Regions from separate parts of the Homo sapiens genome. Here region 1 is linked to region 2. Evidence: promoter capture Hi-C in human tissues and cell types (Jung and others, 2019). All regions are on one chromosome and are shown on one strand. The core of a region is centred on a gene start or on the middle of the fragment in contact, and the rest is flanking DNA. Distances in the headings are between cores, read along the strand shown. Region 1 holds the start of LOC105370972 (a long non-coding RNA gene). Region 2 holds the start of SV2B (synaptic vesicle glycoprotein 2B).

Region 1 (7,200 bases), core at 1,106-3,605, 150 kb before region 2:
TGGGCCCTGAGATTCTGCATCTCTAACAAGCTGCCAGCTGAGGCCAGTGCTGCTGGTCTGGGGACCACACTTTGAGTAGCAAGAGGCTAGAGCACATCTGTCCTCCTGTAAACAGTAAATAATGATGAGAATCCAGGCCTTGGAACCCAAAGATCTCATTCACTAGTTGTATGATTTGGGAGCAAAACCTCTCACTTTCTGAGGGTATTAATCACCTCATTTATAAACCGATTACTGAACTAGAGATGATCTCCAAGTTGCCTTCCCATTCATTAATTTTAAATTAATTTTTTAAAAATGTAAATAATGAAAGATGAAGTACTGTGGATTTCCAAGGAAGAAGATATGCAGATTAAAAACATAAACTCAGACACAAATGTTTGATTAAACTACTTAAGGCCATACAAGGCATTTTTTTGTTTGTTTGTTTTTTGTTTTTTAGATGCTCTGTCACCCAGGCTGGAGTGTAGTGGCACGATCTCGGCTCACTGCAAGCTCCGCCTCCCGGGTTCACGCCATCCTCCTGCCTCAGCCTCCCTAGTAGCTGGGACTACAGGCGCCCACCACCACGCCCGGCTAATTTTTTGTATTTTTAGTAGAGACGGGGTTTCACCGTGTTAGCCAGGATGGTCTTGATCTCCTGACCTCGTGATCCGCCCACCTCGGCCTCCCAAAGTGCTGGGATTACAGGCGTGACAAGGATCTTTATGACATTGTACACATGGATCAAAATATCACAGGTGCTCCAAAATATGTACGACTATGATAAATGACTTTAAAAAGAATCGAATAATAATAATAAAGATATCCTTAACAAAAAAGTGGCTTCTAACCTACCAGTTTGCAATCTTAGCAATGAACACTGTGCAGTTATGAAATTATTGTCCCTCAGCTCCAAAGCCACCCTCCTAGACCTTACTTGGTCCACAAATCCCGGTCAGTTTTGCCAGCCACTCTCTGCTAGGCTCTGCCAATAGAGGGCGCTAGAGGGAGGCTTCAGGGCTGGGGAAAGAAGAAAGCACCTGTCCTTTCTGTTCCCTGTAGGTTTCAGCCTGACTGCAGCAATTCCTTTCTAGATAGCAGCTGCATCCAATTAGCAGAGGCCACATTGCACTTCATTCTCCTCTCCAACACCAGCAACTGCCAGCCAGGGCCTCTCTTAAGAGAGCTGAGTTGCAGCTTTATGGAACCCCTTTTCAAGATTCTAAGTTATAATCATTCCAATCTCTTTCCTTTATTCTCCAAGCCCTAGGGGAGGTAGCTTCTCCCTGCATTTGCTACCTCAGTGAAACTTTTCAAAAGCGTTTCACCCATCCTGTTAATAATTTTTACATTAAAATCTCTCTTTTCAAGTAACTGGTATGATTTGTCTCCTGACTATCCCATGACTGATCTAGACACCTAGACAAATTGAAAAACTTTACAAGTTAGATGTTGAATCCAACCCCTTAGTTTTACCAGACGAGGAGGCTGAGCCCCAGAAAGGGTCAATAACTTGCCCAGAACCTCAATGCTGGCCGAGGACCTGCTGGCACTGCATTTCTGGTCTCCTGGCTCCAGGCCTTGTGCTTTCACTACTAAACCTCACTGTCCAAGGTCATGGAGGTACCAGAGAGAATAAGAAGAGCTTCTCAAATGCTGTCTTTGAAGTCTAGGAAAAGGAAGAATGAAGGAAAAATGAGCCTATCACCAGGGAAGGGAAATACAAAATTAACAATGTCTCTGGAATGGCTATGTTATTAGACTCATTTAAAATCTGTCTTTAGCAAAAGAAATTTAAAAAATACATTTGGAAAATTAGAGTGCAGTGGAGTTATCAAAAATTACCTTAGTGTGAAGCAGATAAGGAACTAGTTAGAAAGCCAGAAATTCAATCTTCCCTCAATTTCACTCAACAAGCTCGGTGGCATATTAGGGAAATGATCCCTTAATATACTGAGATTTTTGAGGAAATTGAAAACCAGGATTGCTACTTGCAGAGCAAAGGAGGAAGAGGAGAAGAAGGAGGAGGAGGAGGAGGAGGAGGAGGAGGAGGAGGTTGAAAGGAGGAGCGATGTGGTGGAGTGGAAAAGACTTTTAATTGGTGGTAACACAACAAAGGAAATAGAATACCCCTCCTTGGAAGAGGGAGGAGCCTGCAGTGACAGGCACCATGCAAGAAAGAGCCCAGTTCTGAGACTGAGACATCTGGGCCATGGTCCTGGCTCCATGACTACCACAGCATGCCTGTGGGCAGCCCATTCAGCCTCTCTGACCACTATTACATCTTTGTAAAATTCGGTGCCCATCTTTGCAGAGTTGTTAGGATTATATAGGGGAGTGGATTTAAAGTATCTAGCAAAATGCCTGGCACCAAAGTAAATGCACATTTAATAAAAGCTGCTATTGATGTTATTAGCAGTACAGCTTAAAATTGTCTAGGACCTTGGAAAGCCACAGGATTAGAAAAATAAAAATAAGATGGTGATATTTTAAAAACAAGCCAATCATATACTAAAGGAATATGAGGAAAAAGGATAGAGAATAGCATAGGAAACTTATTTTTAGTAGTATGCCCTTTAAATAGACCTCCCTCTCTCCTTACCTGGAGAAGAAGCCAGCTTCCAATAAAAAGCTTTTTTTGAAAAATATTTTCGAAGTTTCCTCTAACAAGACTTTGAAGGGGGGATTTTTTTTTTTTTTTTTTGCTAACTCATATTTCTTCAGTTCCCACATTAAATGTCATCTCCTTAGAAAGGCATCCCTGATGTTCCAAACTAAGGCTCCACCAACTTTTTCTATAAAGGGACAGAGCATAGATATTTTACTTGTAAAATGTACTTTGCCAATCTTCTATGGTCTCTGTCACATCATATTATTATTCCTAAATTTACAACCCTTTAAAAATGTTAAAAAAAAAATTGGTCATAGGTTTGTAGACCACAGTTTGTTGGTTCCTGTTCCAAATTTCAGTCGTCCCTGATAGTCTTTTGGCAGCATACTATTGCTTTTCCTTTGTATCACATGTCTCTATTTGATGTTATATATTTATTTGTTTGATATTTGCCAAACTCCTGTGACTGTAAACTCCTGGACGAAGGGACCATGTTGATTTTGCTTGAGGAGAGTTCGACACTGTGTCTCTAGCACAGAGATGTACACATAGTAGGTACTCCATTAATATTTGTTCAATAAATAAAACAATCTAAAAGTAATTCCTATTCACTGTAAGAAAATCTGAGGAATACCCCCCAAAATGTATAAAAGGTAAAGCAATAATCTATTCATCATACCACCACTCAGAGACAGCTGTTGTCAGCAGGCTTTATTTTTGTATTTGTATTGGTACGTGTATAACTACATACTGTATTTACACGATAGAAATCTTTCTGTCTCGAAAGCTTCATAGTCTAGCTTTTCACTTAATAAACAACTCAGCAAAGAATATTTTATGCATATGTCTTTGTTGGTGTTTCTAGTTATTTGCTCAGAATAGATTCCAAGAAATCGAATCATGAGATCGAAGGAGATCAACAAGTTTGTGGCTCTTGAGACACAATGCCAAATATCCTTCTAGAGAGCTGGCAGATATCAGAAACCTCTTCTCAGCTTTAGAGATGCTTTTCACACAGACAGAAGATTTCCTCTCCACACCAGAGGCAGCAGGATAAGATGTACCATCAGACCGCACTGGCTTACCGTGGTGACAAGAAAGAAGAGGCCCTGACTGGGTGAGCTTCTTTATTTAGCAATTAACCAAAGACAAATAAACCACTTCTAACCTTTTTCTTGCTTGAATATGTAGAAATTAAATGCATTCATTATCCTGAGAGGATTATGAGCTTCTTTTTCCTGCAGTGACTCAAATATTTATTTGACTGTATGCATATGCTTTGCAGGAATAAAAATCAGCATCTTCCAACTAAACCATTTCCATTGCATCTATAATAACATCTCTAAAAAGTAATTCCTGTCATTTCCATTCCATTTATTTATTACTCAACCAAATATACCCCCCTTGAAGGGTAGTATTCTCTTGGACTAGGGCATGGGATTCACAGTTCCTCAAAGTGGTAAATGTGATAAATGTTTTAACATATATGGGAATCCCACAAAGAACTCTCACTTTGGTATTAAATCATGGAGGAACATCAGGGTATCCATCTGCACACCCTATGAAATAAGATGCATTGGGTAAGTCAGCCAGGTGCTTTGTTTATGTGGCATCTGGACGCTTGGAAACTTCTGGATGAGTAAACACTTTCTTTTGGGTCGAAAAGGTTTGGCTTTAACATGTCGTCTAGTGGAAACCAATCTAGAATCACCATGTTCGACTTTTCTAGTCTTTTATGGGTCCAGTAAACTCAAGTGAAGGAATCTTCAGAAGTGGGTTAACTTGTCCATTCTCTTGGTAGTTGGAATTCTTTCCTAAATGTCACATAAGATATTTGGATACAAATGTGTAGAGGAGAAATGAAGGGACAAAAGAATTAACATTTGTTGATCTCCTGCCATATGTAAGACACTGTGATAGATCACATGTATAATAATTTCAATTTGTCATTCCAACCTGGTGAGGGAGGTATTAATGGCTTCATTTAACAGATGAGGAAACTGAGGTTAAGAGATTTCCTCTCTGACCACAATTATTAAAGTATAAGTAAACTTTCCCAATCTCTGATGAAAGAACCTAGGATTATAGTTGAGTGAGTCACCAATGCCCCAAATTATGACATAGCCCATGAAGAAAGATACACTAATACTCTTCAAGGACAGCAGGGTTGGGGTGAGGCATTTGTCACTCTGCCTGAGGATGCAACATTCTCACTTGCCCTGGCCCCTCAGCTCAGGGCGAGCCACAGCACAGCAGAAGAGCAGAACCGCCCCTCCTGGAAGTTCTAGGTTCTGAATGTGTCCAATAGGCCCAGAGGTGAGGGTCTACAGGCAGATCAGGGAGTCTGAGAGACAGAAGCCCCTTGCTTCAGCAGCATTGGATTTAAGGACAGAGCCTTAAATCAGGAAGAAGTTCTCTCTCCAACCATATACAGGGGAAACTAAAGACTTTGCCTGGCAACCTAGAGACTTTATCATCGCAGGAGATGGATAACCAAGATGAAACCATGAGACAACATTCTGGGCCAAGCAGTGAGCAATGAGGAGACCCAGACCCCAGGTTCCTGGCTGTGTCTTTGGTGAGTAGAGACATATCCACAGCCACAGTGGAAGCAGCTGCAATAGAAAGGATTTAAGACAACAGTGAGGTTTCTGACTGGGGCTCACCTTAGCCTTGGGGCAGAGGGGTATCTGTCACTTTCCTTAATCTTCTCTCAGGCTAAAAAGAAGAGGCATTAAGACAGATTCCCTGAGGATACTTCAAGAACCCTGAAATTGCCTTGCTCACATACCACCACACTAGAGATGTTTCAGAAAAGCAGCTTCCCTTTTGGTGCCTCCAATCCAGAATGACTCCAGGTGAGACGGGTAAGAGGAGGTGTCACCTGGGCCAGTGGAGGTATGACACCTCTGATAGCTCTCCTGGGCACTGTGGGCATCTCAGATAGGATCATAACCCAATGAGGCTCAGTGATGCCTCTGCCATTTCACTTAAGACCAAGTTGTGGTCATTGCTAGAGGGTGGAATATTGTGTCTGATGAGATATAGGAATAGTCCAGGGGTCTCATAAGAGGGCAAAAGCAGATGCCAACAGGGCCCAGGCAGGTTATACAAATGGGTGATACTTCCAGACATCCCTAATAGGGAGTGTGGGGACTGAGAAATACATGCCCGTCTAAAGGGAGCAGCCACCACCTAACTTCAGCCAACTGCTGTGTTACAGAAGATAGACCCTATTCCTACAGTTTCAAAAAGAACCAGAAATCTAGATTGCTAAATAAAATCTCTGAGTTTTAAAACACTACTAGCCAAACAGTAGTTTCACCTACTATTTGAGAACCCTGTGTGACAGAGATTTGTGCAGCCTTTAATAGCATGTTCAGAAAGTGAGTATTCGTATTTAAAAAAATAATAGGTAACTCCTGGGTCAGATCTCTTCATCCTATGACGGTTACTCTTATTCTGCTATTCACCCTTTTATCAAGTATTAAGCAACCCCTGGATACTGATGTCCTATGCTCTCTCCCACCTCAGAGTCTTCACACTGCTCTTTCCTCTATCTAGAATGTTCTTTGTTCAGATCTTCGCATGGCTGGCTCCTTCTCATATTTCAGGCGAAATCTCAAAGAGGCCTTCCCTGACCATCCATCCTCAATAGCCTCTCCCTCCAACAGGTGGAATCGTAAAGATCAGTTAGCAGGCCACCACATGTATTTCAAGTGAATGACGCTGATGACTTGGGCCAGGTTGGTAGGTAGAGGAAAGTGGTAAGAAGTGGCTGGATTCTGGATGCATTTTAAAGGTGGCATCCAGAGGAAAGGTGGTAATGAAAGCAGACAACAAACACGATCCCCAAAGAAGTGACTGGCAATACACAAGAGATTCAAGGACTGAGCACTGAGACATTCCAACATTTAAAGGCCAGGAATATGAAGAGAGACCAGTGATGGAGAACAAGAAGGAGCAGCCAATGGGCAGGTGGAAAACGAGGAGACAGAGGTAGCTTAGATGTCCAATAAAGAAAGCGCATCAAGGAGGAGAGAGTGGCTAACCGTTAGAGTTGCTGTGAACAGGTGAATAAGCTGAGGATGAGAGCTGACTGCTGAACTGAGCAAGTGGAGGCCAAGAGTGATCTAGACAAGAGCAGGTTTCTGAAGAGGCGAGGATTAACTCCTGCTTAAAGATGAAACGTCCTCACTCATTCATTCTACTGAAAGTGGGTTCAAGTGAGAACAGAAAGTGAGGAACTGGGTTCAGTGAATTTTACTGGAAAGGGAATAGAAAAGATGTGTGTGGGATCAAGACTGAAGAAATGTGTAGTGTGCTGGTGGGAATGATTCCATAGAGAGATAAATATTGATGAGGAGGAGTTACAAAATGATGAGAAAAAGGATTACAAAAGTGATGTTCTGGGGAGGTGAGAGGGGATGGGATACAGGGAGACCAGTGAGCCTCACACCTCCTCCACTGTCACAAGAATACGGGGTCAGCACAGAGGCAGCGAGGAAGGTAGGTGTGATAACAGGGGCTATAGAAGTTCTTCTCCGGTTACTTCTGTTGTTCTCAGTTCAGGAGGAACTGAGTTTATTAATCTGAGAGTGAAGATG
Region 2 (7,928 bases), core at 954-3,453:
TGATGATCGGGTAACAATGAGTAAATATTTTAAAGTATCTTTTCTTTAATTATTATAAGAATCCTATTACTGTCTCCATTTTACAGATCAGGAAACTAATGCTCAAAGAGGGGCTGAGTAACTTGCCCAAGACACTCACCTAGGTCTGTTTGAGCATCCACGCTCATGCTTCTTGTAGTGCACGCTGCTTTTCAAATACCTTAATGATGATGTAGGCGCATGTAACACACATCTCTGGCAAATACATAACACAAGAGCTTTTCATTCTATCATTTTTCGTCACCCATCACAGCTTTGGTCCAGGAAGAAACATCCTTGAGATTGGATTTTCATCTCCCAGAAAAGACTGGTAGTAACAGCTTTAGTTTTCCCTTATTCCACCCATTTAGGGAAAATCAAGGGAGAGTTTTCCTTTTGAACTGGGCTGGGACAAGAACAGATAGGTCGGGGACCCAGGGAGAAGCAGACAGAAGTTCATCTGCTCTGAAACTCCCTCAGAATTTTCCAGAGTCCCTGCCTTTGTGAAGTGTTGCTTCAAAACCTTCATAGTCCTGGAATTCAGGAAAAGCATTCATTAAAAAAGGAAAAAATTAAAGTCTGACTTGTATTGTGTGTGCTCCTCTCTGGGTGTCAGCCTGTGTCTACTGGGGTCTAGTCACATACTGCAAATACCAGCCCAGCCGAGACTTGTAAAGCTCTGCCCACCCAGTGGCAGTGATGGCAATGGTGTGGGAGAGTCATGTGGGTCACTCCCGGACCGAAGAACCAAGAGAGCGACCCAGTCCCTGCTGAAATCCACGCCATGCCTAATCCATGAGGGCTTCATTTTTATACTAATCACTGCCACTATCAATTTCCTCCTCCTCTCTGCTCTCACTGCTCTTTTCCAACACCATCATGAACTTATCCACCTCCTGATTACGAGTGCTTCTCCCCCTACCAGGTGTGAACCTCAGGGAGCCAGGACATTGTTATCATCATCTCTGCATCCCCAAGGACTAATCCCATCTCTGACAAATACTAAGTGCTCAGTAAGTATTTGCTGACTCAAGAAAGATGCAGAACGAGCCTGTACCTACTGCACCAACTGGAACAAGCAGAACAAGTCACCTCTTCTGGAAAGGGCAGGAAGCAGAAACACAGAGGAGACCAGCATAGACCAGAACCACCGCTGAGCCGACTACAGTGCCCAGTCCTCCCTCATGCACCCTCCTTACCCCTCACCTGCCACTCTCTGAGCCCCAAAGCCACCCACATTCACCTCCCCAAGGGCTAGAAAGCCAGCAAGCATTCCCCCAGCGTCCCACCCCACCCCACTGGGGCTGCTCTTATCAGAGCCCAAGACACCAACGTTAAGTTACCCTTAAACGGAGTAATTTGCATCTGTAATTTCCGGATAAAGGAGTGTATTTCATCAGCCCTGCTGAACCCTGGACAGCAGAGATTTCTACCACCCGTCTGCCGAAGACACAGCGGTGCCTTGCTCCTCCCTGGCTAAACGCATTTGCTAGCCCATCCCTGCAAAACAAGTCATTTTCTTTCCCTTGCGCTAAAACCCGTCCATAAACAAATCCTTCTGTGTCCCTAAGAAACGGCTCCCACGCCCACGGAGGGCGCCCTGCACATACAGAAATACACACTCACAAACCCCAAGAGCCACCAGGTGTAAGCACGTTTGAATTCTGTTCTTTAAGAACAAGCCAACAACAATAACAAAATCTATCTACTAGAATGTAACTGAAACTAAAAGCAGCGGCTAGGAAGCTTATGGAAACGGAGCTATAAATGCCAGCAGCCTGACATTTATAAGTTGCAAAACTACTTATGGCGCTAATAGTTCAAACAGGGTTTTAAAACAGCCCTTGGGGAGGCCGCTTTCAAAGAAGCGCACAGCTCCAGGCAGCGGGCAAGTCCTTGCTTTTCTGCGCCGGTTTTTCAAGACTCTCCGATCTTTTGTGCCATTTACTATGAACAGCACTCAGCTGTGCGAGCGTGTATATTTCAGCCCAGGCAGGCGAGTCTGGGAGCCCTGGCGCACGCGGGGTCCGCGCCCCGGCTGGGTCGGTTGCACCGCAGCGAGCAACGCAGTCCCCTACCTGGGTGGCAAATCCGCTGGCGGCCGCCTCCGGATGCAGGCAGAGCAGCGTCCGCCCCGGCAGCCCCGCGTGCAGCTCCGGCTAACGCGGAGCTGGGCGATCCGGGCGGAGGCAGGCGCCGGCGGGTGTCACACCTGCATCACCGCGCCCACGCCGCCCCCGCCAGCCGCCCAGGCGCAGCGCGCAGCGCGCCCCCGCGCTACAGAGCACGCGGGGCGGGAGGCTCCTGGGTCCTCTACTCAGCGGGATCAGATCCTAACCCGCTTTCTTCCCGGCCCGGGCATTAAAAGTATTCGCTGCGGGCAGCTCTGCTTCTAAATCTCCTTCTGATCGAAGGCTGGGTGTGGAGATAGCTCAGAGGGAAGGAGGACCAGTGAGGCCGCAAGGTCTCCGGATTTGCAGACCAATAAATATTAAACTTCTTATTCCTCGAGTTTTGTAACCAGCTGATCATGGGCGTCGTCTCGCTGTCTCCACCCCGCCTAGGGCGAGGGGGCGCTGTGGACTCCACATGCCCTTCCACCCACTCCGAACTAGGATGCGTCAGAGGACTAGACGCAAGTTCCCGGGAAGGGGAATCCTCTGATCACGCCGCCCCCAAAGTATCGTCGATCATGGTGCTGTTCGACTGCTTTGTTCTCGTTTGCCTCATCAGGAACTGAAGAGAACCTACCCGGCCAGCGCGGGGAGGAGGAAAGCCTGCAAGGCTTGGTGCATTCAAACAAGCCCTCCACCTCTGTCTCCCTCCTTCCAAACCACCACCCACTAACTCCACTGACGAGAGTTCAGCAAACTAAACTGCCAAGGCTCAGCACCGAAAGACTCTTTAGGAGCATAGGGCTCCTTCTAGGAGCAAGTAAGGAGCAAGGAAAGGACACTGGAAATTCGGATGCGGACTCAAACAGCACAACACTGCAGGTGCCTGGCCCCTCTAGGATCCGAAGCTACGTTCCTTTCCTAACAGGGCTAAAATGAAGGCCAGTTCTGGAAGAGCCTTCCCCCTCTTCTCCATGGAGCACATCCTCCATCATGAGGTCTTCAGCTGGACTCCCCACTCTCGCTGCCGTCAATGACCTGCGCTCCAGCTCCCTGCCTCTTCCCTGGCTGGGGCCTCCGCCGACTCGCACCTGGACCACCCGCAAGGACTTCAACTTCTCAGGCTCCTGGAGTCATTTCTCAACATGTAAATCTGATCTTGACTCTTTCCTACCTAAAACCATGTGATGGCTTCCCAGTGTCCTTGAAAAATCCGAAACATTTTTTTTTTTTTTTTTTTGAGACAGGGTCTGGCTCTGTTGCCCAAGCTGTGGTGCAGTGGCTGGATCACAGCCTCAACCTCCGCAGCTCAAGCAATCCTCCTGCCTCAGCCTCTCAAGTAGCTGGGACTACAGGCATGCGCCACCACTCCTGGCCAATTGTTAAACGTTTTGTAGAGTAGAAGTCTCACTCTGTTCTCCAGGCTGGTCTGGAACTCCTGAGCTCAAGTGATCCGCCTGCCTCAGCCTCCCAAGCTGGGATGCAGGCTCGCGCTACAGCGCCAGCCTAACACATCACATTTAGTGCTGGAAAGCAAACCCTTGCTAACCCCCCACAGCCTCACCCCTCCACCCTCATCTTTTCCCCTGTACTCTGGCCATATGGAACTTCTAATTCCTTGGACGTGCCTCACTCTTTCACCTCTAGGTCTTTGCACATACTGTTCCCTCTGCTTGGAATGTTCTCCTCCTCCCATTCCTCTTACCTCTGCCTAAAGCCTTATTCTCAGCTGAGCCATCTCTTCCTCAAAGAAGTCTTCCCTCATTCCTGAAATACCTGAATTCTCCCTGCTCCATGTGCCCAGAGCTACCATTAGTTCCTCTACTACAGCACCCAACGCCTTACTAAAGTTGTTGTCCGGCTTCCATAAGAGAATGTAAGCTGTAGGAACGCACGCCTCTGTTGTCTGCCTCATATGGACAGGGACCCAGAATATCGTATCTGCTTAATATCTATTGCTACAGCCACCATCCAGATTAAGGTGGCAAACAGTCCTGGCATCAAGGGGTCTCTTTATGCTCTTTCCCAGGCAATACCAGTCACCCTCCACCTAGGTGTAACCACCACTCTGACCCTTTTCAGCAGCAATTAGTATCACCTGCTCTTGAACTACTCATGAATGGAGTCATACAGTATATATATAGTATGTACTCTTTTGGGTGTGGCTTCTTTTACTCAAAATAATGTCTGTGAGATTCTTCCATATCATTACATATATCAGTAGGTCATTTTTTTCTTATTGCTGTATGGTATTCTATTGCCTGAATATAACACAATTTATCCCTTCTTCTATGAGTGTACATTTGAGTTGCTTCCAGATTTTAGCTGTGATGAATAAAGCTGCTATGAACTTGTTTTTTGTTCTTTTTTGGTTTTTTGTTTTGTTTTGTTTTGAGAAGAAGTCTCGCTCTGTCGCCCAGGCTGGAGTGCAGTGGCATGATCTCAGCTCACTGCAACCTCCACCTCCCAGATTCAAACAATTCTCCTGCCTCAGCCTCCCAAGTAGCTGGGATTACAGGCACATGCCACCAAGTCCGGAAAATTTTTGTATTTTTAGTAGAGACGGGGTTTTGAAATGTTGGCCAGGCTGGTGTCAAACTCCTGACCTCAGATATCCACCCACATCAGCCTTCCAAAGTGCTAGGATTACAGGTGTGAGCCATGGCACACAGCCTGTTATGAACATTTGATAGACATATGTGCTCTTTTCTTTTGAATATGAAACTAGGAATAGAGTTGCTGGGTCACAAGGTAAATGCCTGTTTTTGCCTTAGTAAATAGATACAGTACTTTGCCTTAGTAGATACAGTACTACCAAACAGTTTTCCAAAGTGGTTGTGCCAATTTACAGTCCTAGTCCCATCTGCAATATTTGAGAATTCCAGATGTTCTATTTCTTTGCCATAACTTGGCATTATCAGTGCTTTTAATTTTAGCCATTCTTGTGTGTAGTGTAAATTACATTGAAGTTAAAACTTTGATATAGTTTTAATGTGTGTTTCTTGATTATTACTAATGTTGAGCAATTTCTTATGCTTATTGGCCATTTGGATATTCTTTTGTAAAGTTTCAAGTCTTTTGACCAATTTATTGGGTTTTCTGTCTTTTTCTTATTGATCTGTAGGCACTCTCTCTGTTTTAGGTATAAATCCTTGGTTGGATATAGTAATTTTAATATCTTCTCCGTGTTTGGGGCTTATATTTTTATTGTCTTAATTTTAATGACACACAACATTAATTTTTTCTTTTGTGATTAAAAGACAAATGCTTTTGTGTGTTTTGTTTAACAAATCTTTCTTTGTCTCAGGGTTGGGCATCTATTGTCTGGTGTTTCTTTCCTTCTACAAGCCTTTGTTTTACCCTTTACATTTTAGTTTATTTTCTATTTGTGCATGGGATAAGGTAGGCTGAAATTTTACTTTTATTTCAAGATAGCAGTTGCTCCAAAACCACTGTGGAAAAGATCATTCTTTATGAATTAGCTTGCAATAGCATCTTTGTTATAAGTCAAGTGACCATCTATATGTGCATCTATTTCTAGACTCTTCATTCTGTTTCACTGGTCTGTGTACCTATACTTACACCAACACTACACTGTCTTAGTTACCTTTATTATAAGTCTAGAAATCTGATCATGTTTGCCCACCTTTTTTCTTCTTCCAAGTTGTCTTGGTTCTTTCGGGTCCTTAACTTTTCCACAAGAATTTTAGAATCAACTTGTCAAATTATGCACACAATCCCTGGTGGGATTTTGATTGGCATTGCCTTATATCTATAGATCAATTTGGTGAGAATGAACACCTTAGCAATACTGTCCCCCAATAATTTTACATTTTATATCTCTCTACTTATTTTGTCTTCTTTAATGTCACTCAGAAATACTTTCTAGATTTCAATGAATAGATCTTGCCTATGTTTTGTTGTATCATGCTTAAATCTTTGATGTTTTCATTCTATTGTAAATAGTACTATAACTTCATTTTTAATCTTATTGCTAGTATACAAAAATACAATTAATTTTAGATTGACCTTATATCAGTATCAAAATAAAACTTATTTCGATATATTGTTCTTATATTTTATATCCTTTTAATTGCTAAATTCACTTATTAATTTTTACAGCTTGTATAGGCCAGGCGCGGTGGCTCATACCTGTAATCCCAGCACTTTGGGGAGGCCGAGGTGGGCAGATCACAAGGTCAAGAGATTGAGACCATCCTGGCCAACATGGTGAAACCCCGTCTCTACTAAAAATACAAAAATTAGCTGAGTGTGGCAGCACATGCCTGTAGTCCCAGCTACTCAGGAGGCTGAGGCAGGAGAATCACTTGAACCCGGGAGGTGGAGGTTGCAGTGAGCTGAGATCGCACCATGACACTCCAGCCTGGCAACAGAGGAAGACTCCATCTCAAAAAACAAAAACAGAACAAAACAAAAAAGCTTATATATTCTTTGATATTTTTAAGGTACAGAATATATGTGATTAAAGACAATTTCACTTTTTCTTTTCCAATGGTTACATCTTCTACATAAACTTTTTCATGCCTTATTGCTCTAGCTAGGCCCTTTCATAAAAGTGATGACACCGGGCATCATTGTCTAACTCTCAAATTTGGGGAATGGGGCATCTTCATACTGTTATGTATGATGTTAACTGTAAACGTGGTAATAATGAACAGCATGTCTTAGTCATAACTTCAGAGGGAAAGCACTCTTACTAATAAGTATGATGCTAACCATAGGTGTATAGGGGAGGAAAAATAAGTTCCCTTCTACCCTTCTAAAATGTTTGGCTGGGGCTTCTGAAACAAAATACAGATTAACAAGAGAAAACCAAACAAGTTTATTAACATGTATATCTTACATATGCCTGGAGGATACCCAGAAAATAAGTAATTCTCACAGAGATAGCTTCAAACTCCATCTTATACAACATCTTCAACAAAGAATAATAAATTTTTAGAGAAGTGACAAGACAAAAGAAAAGGACTTTGAGTCTCCTACAATTTAGGAAATTGTAGGAAGCCAAATATACAGGAAACTAATGGTAGATAAATGCTAGTTAAGCATGTTATGTAGATGTTCTGCTGCTGTCTCCAGGCTGATAAGGGTCTAAAGTCATTTCTATCTGGTGATTTACTTTTAGCGTTCTTGGTTGAGAGTGGAGGGGAGACTTTCATGTATATGTATGCCCTGGTTTTAGGAAAATAGGGAAAGGACAGAGAGTTTTTCTTGTATCTGCTTTTCCCCAATTGTCTTTAGCTCAAGATAAGCCTTATGCCAAAGTGGCATATTTTGGGGAGATATTTCTAATCTTTATATTTAAAAGCTTCCCTCTTCTGTTAGATTGCTATGAAATATATAATAAATGGGTGTTAAATTTTGTCATTTTTTTGCATCTACTGAGATGACCATATGTATTTTTTTCTTTCATTTGATTAATATAGAAAATTACCTTGAATGACTTTTGAATGTTAAACCAACCTTACATTTCTCAAATAAACCCCATTTTGTCATGGTGTAATATTTTTATTATCATTGCATTTGATTTGATAATATTTTGTTTAATATTAGAGATTAGCATGTAATATTTCTTCTAGTGTCCCTATCACATTTTTTTATTATACTTCAAGTTTTAGGGTACATGTGCACAATGTGCAGGTTTGTTACATATGTATACCTGTGCCATGTTGGTGTGCTGCACCCATTAACTCGTCATTTAACATTAGGTATGTCTCCTACTGCTATCCCTCCCCCCTCCCCCCACCCCACAACAGTCCCCAGTGTGTGATGTTC

Evidence for each region. The method cuts DNA at HindIII sites, captures the fragments that hold promoters and counts their contacts. A contact is called where the count stands out against the background at its distance.
Region 1: a contact is called between a fragment that was not itself captured here and the fragment with the promoter of SV2B in region 2, in 2 of the 25 tissues and cell types used here (dorsolateral prefrontal cortex and heart right ventricle).

What each region holds. Positions count from the first base shown.
Region 1 is chr15:91,241,552-91,248,751 of GRCh38, reverse strand. All of the region lies in intron 2 of SV2B (synaptic vesicle glycoprotein 2B), which reads right to left. It overlaps LOC105370972 (a long non-coding RNA gene), which reads left to right and starts at 2,675. Exons shown (of 3, transcript XR_007064760.1): 1 at 2,675-5,171; 2 at 5,311-5,451. The HindIII fragment of the contact is 6,797 bases long and covers 1-5,753 here.
Region 2 is chr15:91,094,532-91,102,459 of GRCh38, reverse strand. It overlaps SV2B (synaptic vesicle glycoprotein 2B), which reads right to left and starts at 2,203. Exons shown (of 13, transcript NM_001323032.3): 1 at 2,097-2,203. RefSeq lists a silencer at 1,977-2,376 and an enhancer at 2,426-2,967. The HindIII fragment of the contact is 7,105 bases long and covers 1-7,017 here.